2 separate regions of the Homo sapiens genome follow, and region 2 is linked to region 1. Evidence: promoter capture Hi-C in human tissues and cell types (Jung and others, 2019). All regions are on one chromosome and are shown on one strand. Each heading gives the region's core, a stretch centred on a gene start or on the middle of the fragment in contact. The rest is flanking DNA. Distances are from core to core; before and after follow the strand shown. Region 1 holds the start of ZKSCAN1 (zinc finger with KRAB and SCAN domains 1). Region 2 has its middle 3.8 kb from the start of OR2AE1.

The links. Contacts are between HindIII fragments. The study calls those that stand out against the background at their distance.
Region 2: a fragment that was not itself captured here is called in contact with the fragment with the promoter of ZKSCAN1 in region 1 in 1 of the 25 tissues and cell types used here (pancreas).

What each region holds. Positions count from the first base shown.
Region 1 is chr7:100,012,311-100,018,046 of GRCh38, reverse strand. It overlaps ZKSCAN1 (zinc finger with KRAB and SCAN domains 1), which reads right to left and starts at 2,451. Exons shown (of 6, transcript NM_003439.4): 1 at 2,321-2,451. RefSeq lists a silencer at 2,196-2,365. The HindIII fragment of the contact is 22,044 bases long and covers 1-5,736 here.
Region 2 is chr7:99,877,921-99,883,656 of GRCh38, reverse strand. No RefSeq gene overlaps it. Among named protein-coding and RNA genes, the nearest start is that of OR2AE1, 3.8 kb to the right of the region's middle. The HindIII fragment of the contact is 3,725 bases long and covers 866-4,590 here.

The DNA.
Region 1 (5,736 bases), core at 1,202-3,701:
GCCGTGAGGATTAAATGAGGTAATAGATATAAAGCACTTAAAATAGTGCCTGGCATTTAGTAGGCACTACAGAAATGTCTTAATTTTTTTCAATAAGCTTAAAAGATGTAACTGTACATTCCAATTTTCAGCCTGCTTAGAAGATTAAGCAATGGGACAACTCCTGTAATAGTGAAAGCTGCACAGGCAATAACTGAATTCTAGTCTCCCACAAGTAAGTGGCACATCCCTGAGAGAGGTATTTAACTTCTCTGGCATTTTGTATCTTTATCAGTCAAATGGGGGTAGGGTGGGGGTTCCAGATAGTAGGAAACTACCTCTGGGTGAATATGGGCTGAAAAACATACTGACATACCATCCACTTTAAATAAAATTACCTCCAGCAGCTAAGGATACCTCAGTTCTCACCTAGGATAAACAGAAATGATTTTCTTAAACAACGGCTTGAAGTTACAAGCTCAAAGGCTGTGTTCCAAACAGCCCAGTATTTTTCCAGGGCATAGTCTTGAAAATGTAAACAAAGGCTGGGCACACAGTGGCTCACGCCCGTAATCCCAGCACTTTGGGAGGCTGAGGTTGGCGGACTGCCTGAGATCAGGCGTTCGAGACCAGCCTGGCCAACATGGCGAAACTCTGTCTCTACTAAAAATACAAAAATCAGCCAAGCCTTGGGACACATGCCTGTAGTCCCAGCTATTCGGGAGGCGGAGGCAGGAGGATCGCTTGAACTCGGGAGGCAGAGGTTGCAGTAAGCCGAGATCGCACCACTGCACTCCAGCCTGGGCGACAGAGCAAGACTCTGTCTCAAAAAAAAAAAAATTTTTTTTTAAATAAATTGCCCTTTGCCCTTTACACTCATTTTTTTAAAGAGCAATCAAATGTTTTAATATGAAAAAGCTACCTTAAAAGACAGCTAGCTATTCAAAGAATATTGATACTCCCACAGAATGAAAATGTTAGATTTAATATGCTATTCATCTGTATTTTAAATGCTTTTAAATCGAGAATGAGCAAAAGACTAAGTAGCTAGCTTCCTCGTTTGTATTTTAAGAGTGGTGAAAACTGCCTGAAATAATAAACAAGAATCTTATATGTTAATTCAGAGAAGATACAAACCTGGATACACATTCTGGGGCAAATCACCATGGTTTCCTATGTAAAACAGCGATTTCTCCACATTTGTTCAGCATATATACTAACAGTGCTTTGCTGATGTGGTTACAATGAATTCTCCACAATTCAATTCAACAAGTATTTATTGACCGCCTCCAATCCGCCTAGCACTGGCCCGTACAATAAATGCTTTCTTTGGTCCCAGGCCATGGAACAGCCACTCTCTATAATGAAAGTATCTTACTGTGTACAGGGGGCACTGCAGGAAAGGGAGGGGAGGGATGGAGGAGTGTCAAGCTAAACTGTAGTTAATTCTTCAATTACATTGACCAAATCATTTCGAAGTCGGAAGGGCCTTTTGAGAAAATCCAGTTAGTTTTTATTGATGACGAAATTAAGACTTGGTGAGTGTCTCGTCTTATCCAAGGTCACTCAGCTAATCAGTCTCCTAGTGACACAGTGCAATTTCCACAAATTCCCTTCACTTCTCACCCCACTCCATGTCAAACAGAGCAACTATCCAGAATTGAAAAATCCACCTAACGTCCCGGACAGCTCTTTTCCAAAGCCTTCAAAGCATTCCATCAAGCTGAAAGAGTGGGGTGTATATAATCTCTACTAGATCCCAATCACCTATTTATCCACTATGACTAGGCTTCAAATACTCTTTAATCACCGCTCAGTGATGAGGGTGGGAGAAGGAAAGGCAGGTCTGGAAACGTATGCGGCACCTCAAAATGTGTCCATCTCTCATCCTTCCGCTCATTTCACCTCGAGGTCCCGAAGGAACCGGGGGGGGAAAAAGACACCTCACCGGAATCAAAGCAAATGGCGACTAAGGGAGAGCAGAAAAATCAAGACCGGGGTCGGTTCGCTCGCGACCCCGTTTGCAGAAACGTCAAAGGGCGATGACGACACTGCGGGAGAGGGGCCCACAGACGGCTTCTCCCCGGGTCTCCGGGCACCCTCAGCCACTGAAACCCTCGCCCCCTCCCCGCCTGATCCTGGGGGTGGGGCGGGGACGTCTCCCAGGAAGAACGGCGCTTTCTACGGCCGGGCCCGGCCAGGAGGCAGGGGCATGGACTCTCTTCGCACAACAGCGGGGCCGCCTGGAGGGGGTCCCAGGGCCGCAGCTGCGGAGCCCACCCTCGCGCACACACCCTTGCGGCCCCGCCCTCCCACCCCAGAGGCCGGCCCCAAGTCTCACCGTGAGCCCCGGGAGCGGCCTGGGGGCGCTGGGCGAGAAAGGGGAGCTGACTCTGGGGCTCAGGCCGGCCGAAGGGCACCGCACACGGACTTAGGCCCTCCCGACGCCTCGACACAGACACAATGAGTCACAAAGGCCGGAAGCGTGTCACCACCTCGTCTTCCGGGACCGCGCCGCGCTTCCGGGTCCTCTCTAGGAGCGCGGGAGGACTTTGCATCTCGGTTTCCGAATCGCTGGACCAGGCGCCTGCCCTTGAGTTTTCAAGCCTCCAGCTTGGAGGATCAGGTCCCAGTCCGCCCCTAGTTAATGCAGGGACTAACGGGAGCAGGTGGTGGGGGGTTTCAGGCTTTCCCCTACTCAAACTCAAACAGACTCTCCAGCTCAGACACCAGTCCATGTGAAAGTTCGATTTCACCTGTCTTTTTCATCTCAGGCAGTCCTTGTAGTAATTATAGTTATTATCAAGCAATATAGTACTTGGTAATTGTATGTCTGTGGCAAAGGAACTGAAACAAGGATGTAGACTGAGGAAGATCAAAGTGAAGCCAAGGGTGGCTGGTTTCCCAAAGCTGCCACGGTAGCTTCTCTCAGGGCCCTGGAGCTATATGGAGTGGTATTTTCAAATACTTGGCCCGTGGACAAGGGATGTCTTTCCACAAGCAAGCATAGTTATAAGGTTCTGTGCTTTGCTCATGTGGCATATGCTATTATAGCCGTTTAAAAGGAGTTTTCAGAGTAACAACAGACACTTTTACCTTCAAAGTGCTTTCACAACCTACCACAGTTACAGCCTTCATCTTTGCCTTGCAGGGTAAGGCACGCATAAGAGGGGGCCACGTTGTGCAAGGGTGGGGGGGACTACAGGCTTTAATGGTTGTGACTTTCCACTATGTTCCGAGACAAGTTCATGGGAGAAACTCAGTAGCTTGGTTGCATGACTCTTACTGCTTGGAGAGATTTACTTTTTTTTTTTAGATGGAGTCTCGCTCTGTCACCCAGCCTGCAGTGCAGTGGCACCATCTTGGCTCACTGCAACCTCCACCTCCCAGGTTCAAGCGATTCTCCTGCCTTAGCCTCCTGAGTACCTGGGACTACAGGCGCACACCACCATGCCTGGTTAATTTTTGTATTTTTGGTAGAGAACAGGGTTTCACCATATTGGCCAGGATGGTCTCGATCTACTGACCTTGTGATCCACCCGCCTCAGCCTCCCAAAGTGCTGGAATTACAGGCGTGAGCCACCGTGCCCGGCCAGATTTACTTTTTAAAAAATGTTTGAAAACTAAAAAGCAATGACAGGGCCAGACACGATGACTCAAGCCTGTAATCTTAGCACTTCGGGAGGCTGGGACGGGAGGATTCTTGAGCCCAAGAGTTGGAGACCAGCCTAAGCAACGTAATGAGACCCTCTCTCTACAAAAAATACTAAAATTAGCTGGGTGCAGGGTAGTGTGTGCCAGTGGTCCCAGCTGCTTGGGAGGCTGAGGTAGAAGGATAGATTGAGCCCAGGAGGTTGAGGCTGCAGTGAGCTATGATTGTGCCATTGCACCCCAGTCTGGGCCACAGAGCAAGATCCCATCTCAAAAAAGAAAAAAAGGGCCGGGCACGGTGGCTCATGCCTGTAATCCCAGCAGTTTGGGAGGCCAAGGTGGGTGGATCACGAAGTCAAGAGATTGAGATCATCCTGGCCCATATGGTGAAACCCCGTCTCTACTAAAAATACAAAAATTAGCTGGGCGTGGTGGCACACGCCTATAGTCCCAGCTACTTGGGAGGCTGAGGCAGGAGAATCGCTTGAACTCCAGAGGCGGAGGCTGCAGTGAGCCGAGATCGTGCCACTGCTCTCCAGCCTGGGGACAGAGCTAGACTCTGTATCCAAAAAAGAAGCAACAACAGTATCATTAAAGGAAATTTGCAAAATGGAGAAAAATAATTACCGGTAATCTCTCCACCCTAACACAATCCCCATGGCTTTAGTTTACCTTTTTCCTGTTTTCATATACAAATAAATATTTATTGATATTATTTTAAACACTGTTCAAAACCATAGTTGCAGTTGTATTGAAGAGGAGGCTGGTATCCTGGAAGTATCTGCTACATTCATATCATGTGAACACTGTTTTTTAAGGAAGAGAAAATATATTTACTATTCAGTAAGTGGAAATAGATCATCATCAAGGTCTTCATACTCATCGTCTTCACACTGAGTAAGCTGAGGAGGAAGAGGAAGGGTTGCTCTTGCTGTCTCAGGGGTGGCAGAGGCAGGAAGTGATCCACCAGCCTCGGCCTCCCAAAGTGCTAGGATTACAGGTGTGAGTCACTGCACCTGGCCTCTTTTCTTTCTTTTTTTTTGAGAGAGTTTCCCTCAGTTGCCATGTTGGAGTGCAATGGCGTGATCTCAGCTCACTGCAACCTCCGCCTCCTGGGCTCAAGTGATTCTCATGCCTCAGCCTCCCAAGTAGCTAGGATTACAGGTGTGCACTCACCATGCCTGGCTAATTTGTGTATTTTTAGTAGAGATGGGGTTTTACCATGTTGGCCATGCTGGTCTCGAACTCCTGGCCTCAAGTGATCCACCCACCTCAGCCTCTCAAAGTGCTGGGATTACAAGTGTGAGCCACCGCGCCTGGCCTCGACATCTTTGATTACTTCCTAAGGATGGATTCCAAGAAATGAGATTACTGGTCCCACAGATAGTCAGAGGGAATATAGGCAATAACGTTTGTAACCCCAGGGTTCTAGACCTGTCAGCAAACAAGCTCAGCTGACAAGATCAGGTGGTATCCACCCAAGAGTTTTGAAAGGACTCTAAGATGAAAGTGTTGAAAGAATCATGAAACTAATGATTTATGATTACAAAGAGACATTGTGCTTAAAAATTGGCTGGCTGCCCTGAACAAATAAAAGTTCCTGAAGGGCACCCTAGAAACTGTGGTTGCCTAAGTTTGACTTCTGTGTTGTGAAAGCTGGTGGAGTCAATGCTGAAGGGGAGCCCGGGTTTGCGGCTGTGACTGGGTGGCTGCAGCTACTCCTGGGAGGGAGGGTCTCCTGTCCCTCCAACTTGGAAGGAGTGGGGGCTTCCATGTGTTCCCAGCTCCCTCCAGCTCTGTGGAGTGCTGCGATCCCAGCTATGCCTCACTCACTGCAGCCAGCATCATGGCAGTGGCCACTCCAGATGGGGTGCTGCTGCCAAGGCGGGCAGATCACCTGAGGTCAGGAGCTCGGGACCAGCCTGACCAACACGGAGAAACCCCGCCTCTACTAAAAATACAAAATTAGCTGGGCATGGTGGTGCATGCCTGTAATCCCAGCTACTCAGTAGGCTGAGGTAGGAGAATCGCTTGAACCCAGGAGGCAGAGGTTGCGGTGAGCCGAGATTGAACCATTGCACTCCAGCCTGGGCAATAAGAGCGAAA
Region 2 (5,736 bases), core at 1,479-3,978, 130 kb after region 1:
GATGGCCAGCCTAATCACGGGCTATGTAAATGGCACACCTGGTCCAACCAATCCCATGGGCCCTATGAAAATCAGACACTGCCTTTCTAAGCCCCTCTATAAAGTCAACTGCATCTCACCCCAAACCTGGAAACCCACTTTGGTTCCCTTCCTCTGCATGAGGAAGCTCTGTCTTCTTTCTTTCACTTTAATTAAAGTTCTGCTCTTAAACCCACTCCTTGTATGTGTCCTCATATTTGATTTCCTTAGCACAAGACAACGAACCTTGGGTATTTCCCCAGACAAATGATGTCGCTTCAGTATTGGCATAAAAACAGACAGATAGACAAACAGAACAGAATAGGCAGTGCAGAAATAAACCCATGCATATACAGTCAGCTTATCTTCAACAAGTGTGCCAAGAATGCACAATAAAGACAGGATAGTCTCTTTTCCATCCTGGCCAACGTGGTGAAACCCCGTCTCTACTAAAAATACAAAAATTATCTGGGCATGTCGGCATGTGCCTGTAATCCCAGCTACTTGGAAGGCTGAGGCAGGAGAATTGCTTGAACCTGGGAGGCAGAGGTTGCAGTGAGCCGAGATCACGCCATTGCACTCCAGCCTGGCAAAACAGTGAGACTCCGTCTCAAAAAAAAAAAAAGAAAAGATAGTCTCTTTAATAACTGGTTTTGGGAAAACTGGATATCCGCATGCAAACAAAGAAATTAAACCCCTCTCTTACACCATACACAAAAATCAGCATAAAATGAATTAAAGACCAAAATGTAAGACCTGAAACCATAAAACTCCTAGAGGAAAACATAAGGGAAAAGCTTCTTGACATTAGCCTTTATAATGATTTCTTGGGTATGACACCAAAAGAAGGCAACAAAAGCAAAAACGGGCAAGTGGGAAGACATCAAACTCAAAAGCTTCTGCACAGCAAAGAAACGATAAAAAATAAAAATAAAAAGCCCACCTATTGAATGAGAGAAATTATTTGCAATCTGTATTAGGTTATTCCTCCATTGCTATAAGAAGTACCCAAGGCTGGGTAATGTATAAAGAAAAGAGGTTTAATTGGCTCATGGTTCTGCAGGCTGTACAGGAAGCCTGGTGCTTGTGTCCGATGATCTTCTTGGGAGGCCTCAGGGAGCTTTTACTCACCGTAGAAGGCAAAGTGAGAGCAGGTAGGTCACATGGAGAAAGCAGGAGTGAGAGAGAGTTGGGGAGAGTGCTACACAATTTTAAACAACCAGCGAATATCAGTGAAGCAAAACATTTTAGGATTTGAGTTGAGATGGAGAAACAAAGAAGAGGTCAACATATCCCTATAATGGAAAGGAAGGGCAGGGTATGAGAATGATATCGGAGTGCATAAGAAGGAGAGGTAGGGTTATGCCATTTTTTCCTTTTCCCTCTGTGTCTGAAATCTTTTTCTTTCTTTCTTTCTTTTTTTTTTTTGGAGATGAAGTTTTACTCTGTCACCCAGGCTGGAGTGCTGTGGTGCGATCTCAGCTCACTGCAACCTACACCTCTCGGGTTCAAGTGATTCTCCTGCCTCAGTCTCCCGAGTAGTTTGGACTACAGATGTGTGCCACCATGCCTGGCTAATTTTTGTATTTTTAGTACAGACAGGGTTCTGCCATGTTGGCCAGGCTGGTCTCAGACTTCTGACCTCAAGTAATCCACCTGCCTCCATCTCCCAAAGTGCTGGGATTAAAGGTGTGAGCCACCGCACTCGACCTGAAATCTCTTGACATGTTATATTCATGTAGTCTATGAAATTGGAGTACGATCAACAGCTAGGATGGGAACTGCCTGCCTCTATTCCTTGACTTCTTTCCTATGATATGGCACATGGAAACCCTCAAAAGGGTCCTGTGGGCAAAAGAGACTAGATATTATTACTCAGACTGTCTTCTCAAAAGGGTTGCGTGGAAAGGCGTTACAGAAATCTGGGTTCCCAAGTGAAAAACAATCAAGGGACTCTAAGAATTTTTTATCTCCACAGTTAATTGGCCCCTGAGGAGAATATTCTCCTGTTATCTTCAGGCTCACTCCGCAAAATATCTCATTCTCCTGATCACTTGGAACAAACTCCAAGTAAAGCCCTTTGGGGATGCTTATCTCAGTGCATACAGCACAGTCTAATTGACATCTTGAGTAATGGTCTCCAGAAGCCATGCAAGATGTGTCCTCTGGGATGGAATCCCTGACGCCATTCTATTTAGTGTCCACAATTTGCTTCAGCTGACATAGGTCCTCTGGGTTAGGGGGATGTTTTATTTCTCCCAGATGATGTCTGTTTTTTCTTATGATTGGCTCACATCAGACCAAGAATGTTCTTACTCTAACCCCCATGATTACTATTGAGAAGACATTTATGCAGTCAGAAAAGTGCTTCCTGACTGCATCAGCCAAATTCATATTTTATTAAGTAGGGAAGGAAGTGTAAAGCTAAGAAGAGAGTGCCTTGAGAGATCCAAAACAATGGAAAACCATAACAGATTTTCTTTTGACTCTGGGCACATTCATGATTAAACTGGTATTCAGTTTACCTTCTTAATAAAGTAATATTAATGGAAATTCCTATTGCCCAAGCTCCGATATTGGAATGGAGGGTTGTCTCAAATATACATATAGAGCCAGAGGAAGCATATGTGTGATTCAAAGGTCCAACTAGTAGAGGCTAAAGTTCAGTTACTTAATCTGTCCTGATGTGTGTTGATGGAGCTCACAATATGAACACACATGTGTCCCATTGGTCCTGGTGATATTCTGCCATTAGGGTAATTAGTGCAAACAACAATGCCTGCGTTGGGGCAATTTCTTCTATGCCGTTCCACAGTAAATGTAACGTAAATGGAAATTTCCAGGCTTAGGGAAGGAAGTCTGGTGAGCACCTCAGAAAAGGCTTGTTTTGATCAACAGTAGCCAACAGGTGGGTCAGTGTGGACCTCTCTTGCCCTCTGCATTTCATTTCTATGCTTTGTCTTCCTACGAGTCTCTGCAGGGAAATAACAGGTAAGATAATATTAGGGCTTGAGGTATTTAGGAAACCTTTATTATAAATTAGGGCATTGTCAGCTTATCCCTTAAGTCAATCCATAAGGAAAGCTTCCTTGGAAGGCAGAGAAAAAAAAAAGTCACTTGAAGGCCACAAATCAGAATGGGAAATTATTAGCAAAGTTGCTGAAGGGAGGAAGAGAGACACAGGTCAGATGGTGAAAAACTTACACCATGGAGATTTGTAGAGAAAGATGGACACTAATGTGGAAAGTGATAGAGAAGTATATGGATACTTAAATAAAAGGGAAGTGTGTGGAGATCTCTAATGGGTTGGAGTGATCAGGAGGAGCATGGGAGAAGTTGAGCTTCTAGTCCACCAGAAGCTGAGTGTGAAATAACAGTGTGAAGTGACAGCCAGAAAGATGAGACTGTAGACTGCATTAGGAGAGAGACAGTAATAGATGTGACTTTTTTTTTTTTTTTTGAGACAGAATTTTGCTCTTGTTGCTCAAGGTGGAGTGCAATGGTGTGATCTCGGCTCACTGCATCATCTGCCTCCTGGGTTCTAGCGATTCTCCTGCCTCAGCCTCTGGAGTAGCTGGGATTACAGGCATGCGCCACCACGCCCGGCTAATTTTGTATTTTCAGTAGAGACGGGGTTTCTACATGTTGGTCAGGCTGGTCTCGAACTCCTGACCTCAGGTGATCCACTTGTCGTGGCCTCCCAAAGTGCCAGGATTACAGGCATGAGCGACCGCGCCCGGCCAGATGTGACCTCTTTCTTACTGATCAAATGCTTGGGAGAATGCATTCAGTTCTGAGTTCTTTGCTTTAAGAAGTAAATAGATAATCGTCACCGCATGAAGGTCTAGAAAGACATTTAGGAGAAAAAACACAAAAAAGAATAGGGTGGATATTTGAGGAATCAATTAAGATTACTTTTTTTTTTTGAGACAGAGTCTTGCCCTGTCGCCCAGGCTAGAGTGCAGTGGCACAATCTTGGCTCACTGCAAACTCCACCTCCCGGGTTCAAGGGATTCTAATGCCTCAGCCCCTCGAGTAGCTGCAATTACAGGTATGTGCCACCAAGCCTGGCTAATTTTTGTATTTTTAGTAGAGACAGGGTTTCACTATGTTGGCCAGGCTGGTCTCAAAGTCCTGACCTCAGGTGATCTGCCTGCCTTGGCCTCCCAAAGTGCTGGGATTACAGACCTGAGCCACTGTCCCCTGCCTGAAATTAACAATTATTAATACATCTTATGTTAGATACGGGGGATGACAGAGGAGAAGAAAACAAATATTCAGTACACATACACACACACACAGAATAAATGCCCATAACTATTACAGTTTTTGTTTCTGTAGCTGCTCACATGGTTTTTGGCTGGTATTTATAACGACTTGCTTTCACTACCCATTCCAATTCTCTTTGTCTACAGTTATTCATGACTCTTTGCCTGGTGGGGTAACCCAAACCTTTATTCCTGAAGCATCTGGGCCACTAGCAGTCTTGTCTGAATTGGGTTGTAGTTTTCTATTGGCTTACATCATGAGACATGAGAGTACACCCTAGAAAATCTGACTGCAGACATAATTCTCCATATCCTCACTGTATAGTAGTGACTGAATTTCCCATTGCTAGTCAGAATCAGTCTTACTAGCCAATAGAGTAACCTTATTTGCCTATTGATTCAGTTCTATGAGGAGCCCCAAGTGGCATGGTGGCAGTCTTAACTATCAGAAAATGGGATTATTGTTGTGACACCTGGTAGAAGAATTTCTCCCTTTGGAACTAAGACCTCTAAAACAGCAAAAGCTAAAAGTGAAGGGATAGAAAACTAAAATTGTGCTGGTGGGTCACAGTTATGGGGGCTATAGTGAGAGGACTCATTCTCTCTTCTACCTGGTGATTTCTGGTTCCATGAATCTTGCTATGGGAGGAAGAGCAGCATAAATTGGATGCAGATTTAGAGTATATTTCACATCCTAGAGGACACTGCCCCAGCACCAAAACGTGTTGCCAACCAGATGGTCTTCAAAAGGCCTTCCCTTGGATTCTCCTTTAGTTTTTCTGACTTCTGGGTCAGGTGTGTGCATTCTTTTTTTTTTTTATTTTTTTTTTTTTATTTTTTTTTTTAAGACGGAGTCTCGCTCTGTTGCCCAGGCTGGAGTGCAGTGATGCGATCTCCACTCACTGCAAGCTCCGCTTCCTGGGTTCACACCATTCTCTTGCCTCAGCCTCCCGAGTAGCTGGGACTACAGGCGCCCGCCACCACGCCCGGCAAATTTTTTGTATTTTTAGTAGAGACGGGGTTTCACCGTGTTAGCCAGGATGGTCTCCATCTCCTGACCTCGTGATCCACCTGCCTCGGCCTCCCAAAGTGCTGGGATTACAGGCGTGAGCCGCCGCGCCCGGCCAGGTGTGTGCATTTTTAATCTGGCCATTAAGAAGCGCCCCAGCGGCCGGGTGCGGTGGTTCACGCCTGTAATCCCAGCACTTTGGGAGGCCGAGGCGGGGGGATCACGAGGTCAGGAGATGGAGACCATCCTGTCGAACACGGTGAAATCCCCGTCTCTACTAAAAATACAAAAAATTAGCCGGGTGTGGTGGCAGGCGCCTGTAGTCCCAGCTACTACGGAGGCTGAGGCAAGAGAATGGCATGAACCCGGGAGGCGGAGCTTGCAGTGAGACGAGATCGGGCCACAGCATTCCAGCCTGGGCGACAGAGCAAGACTCCAACT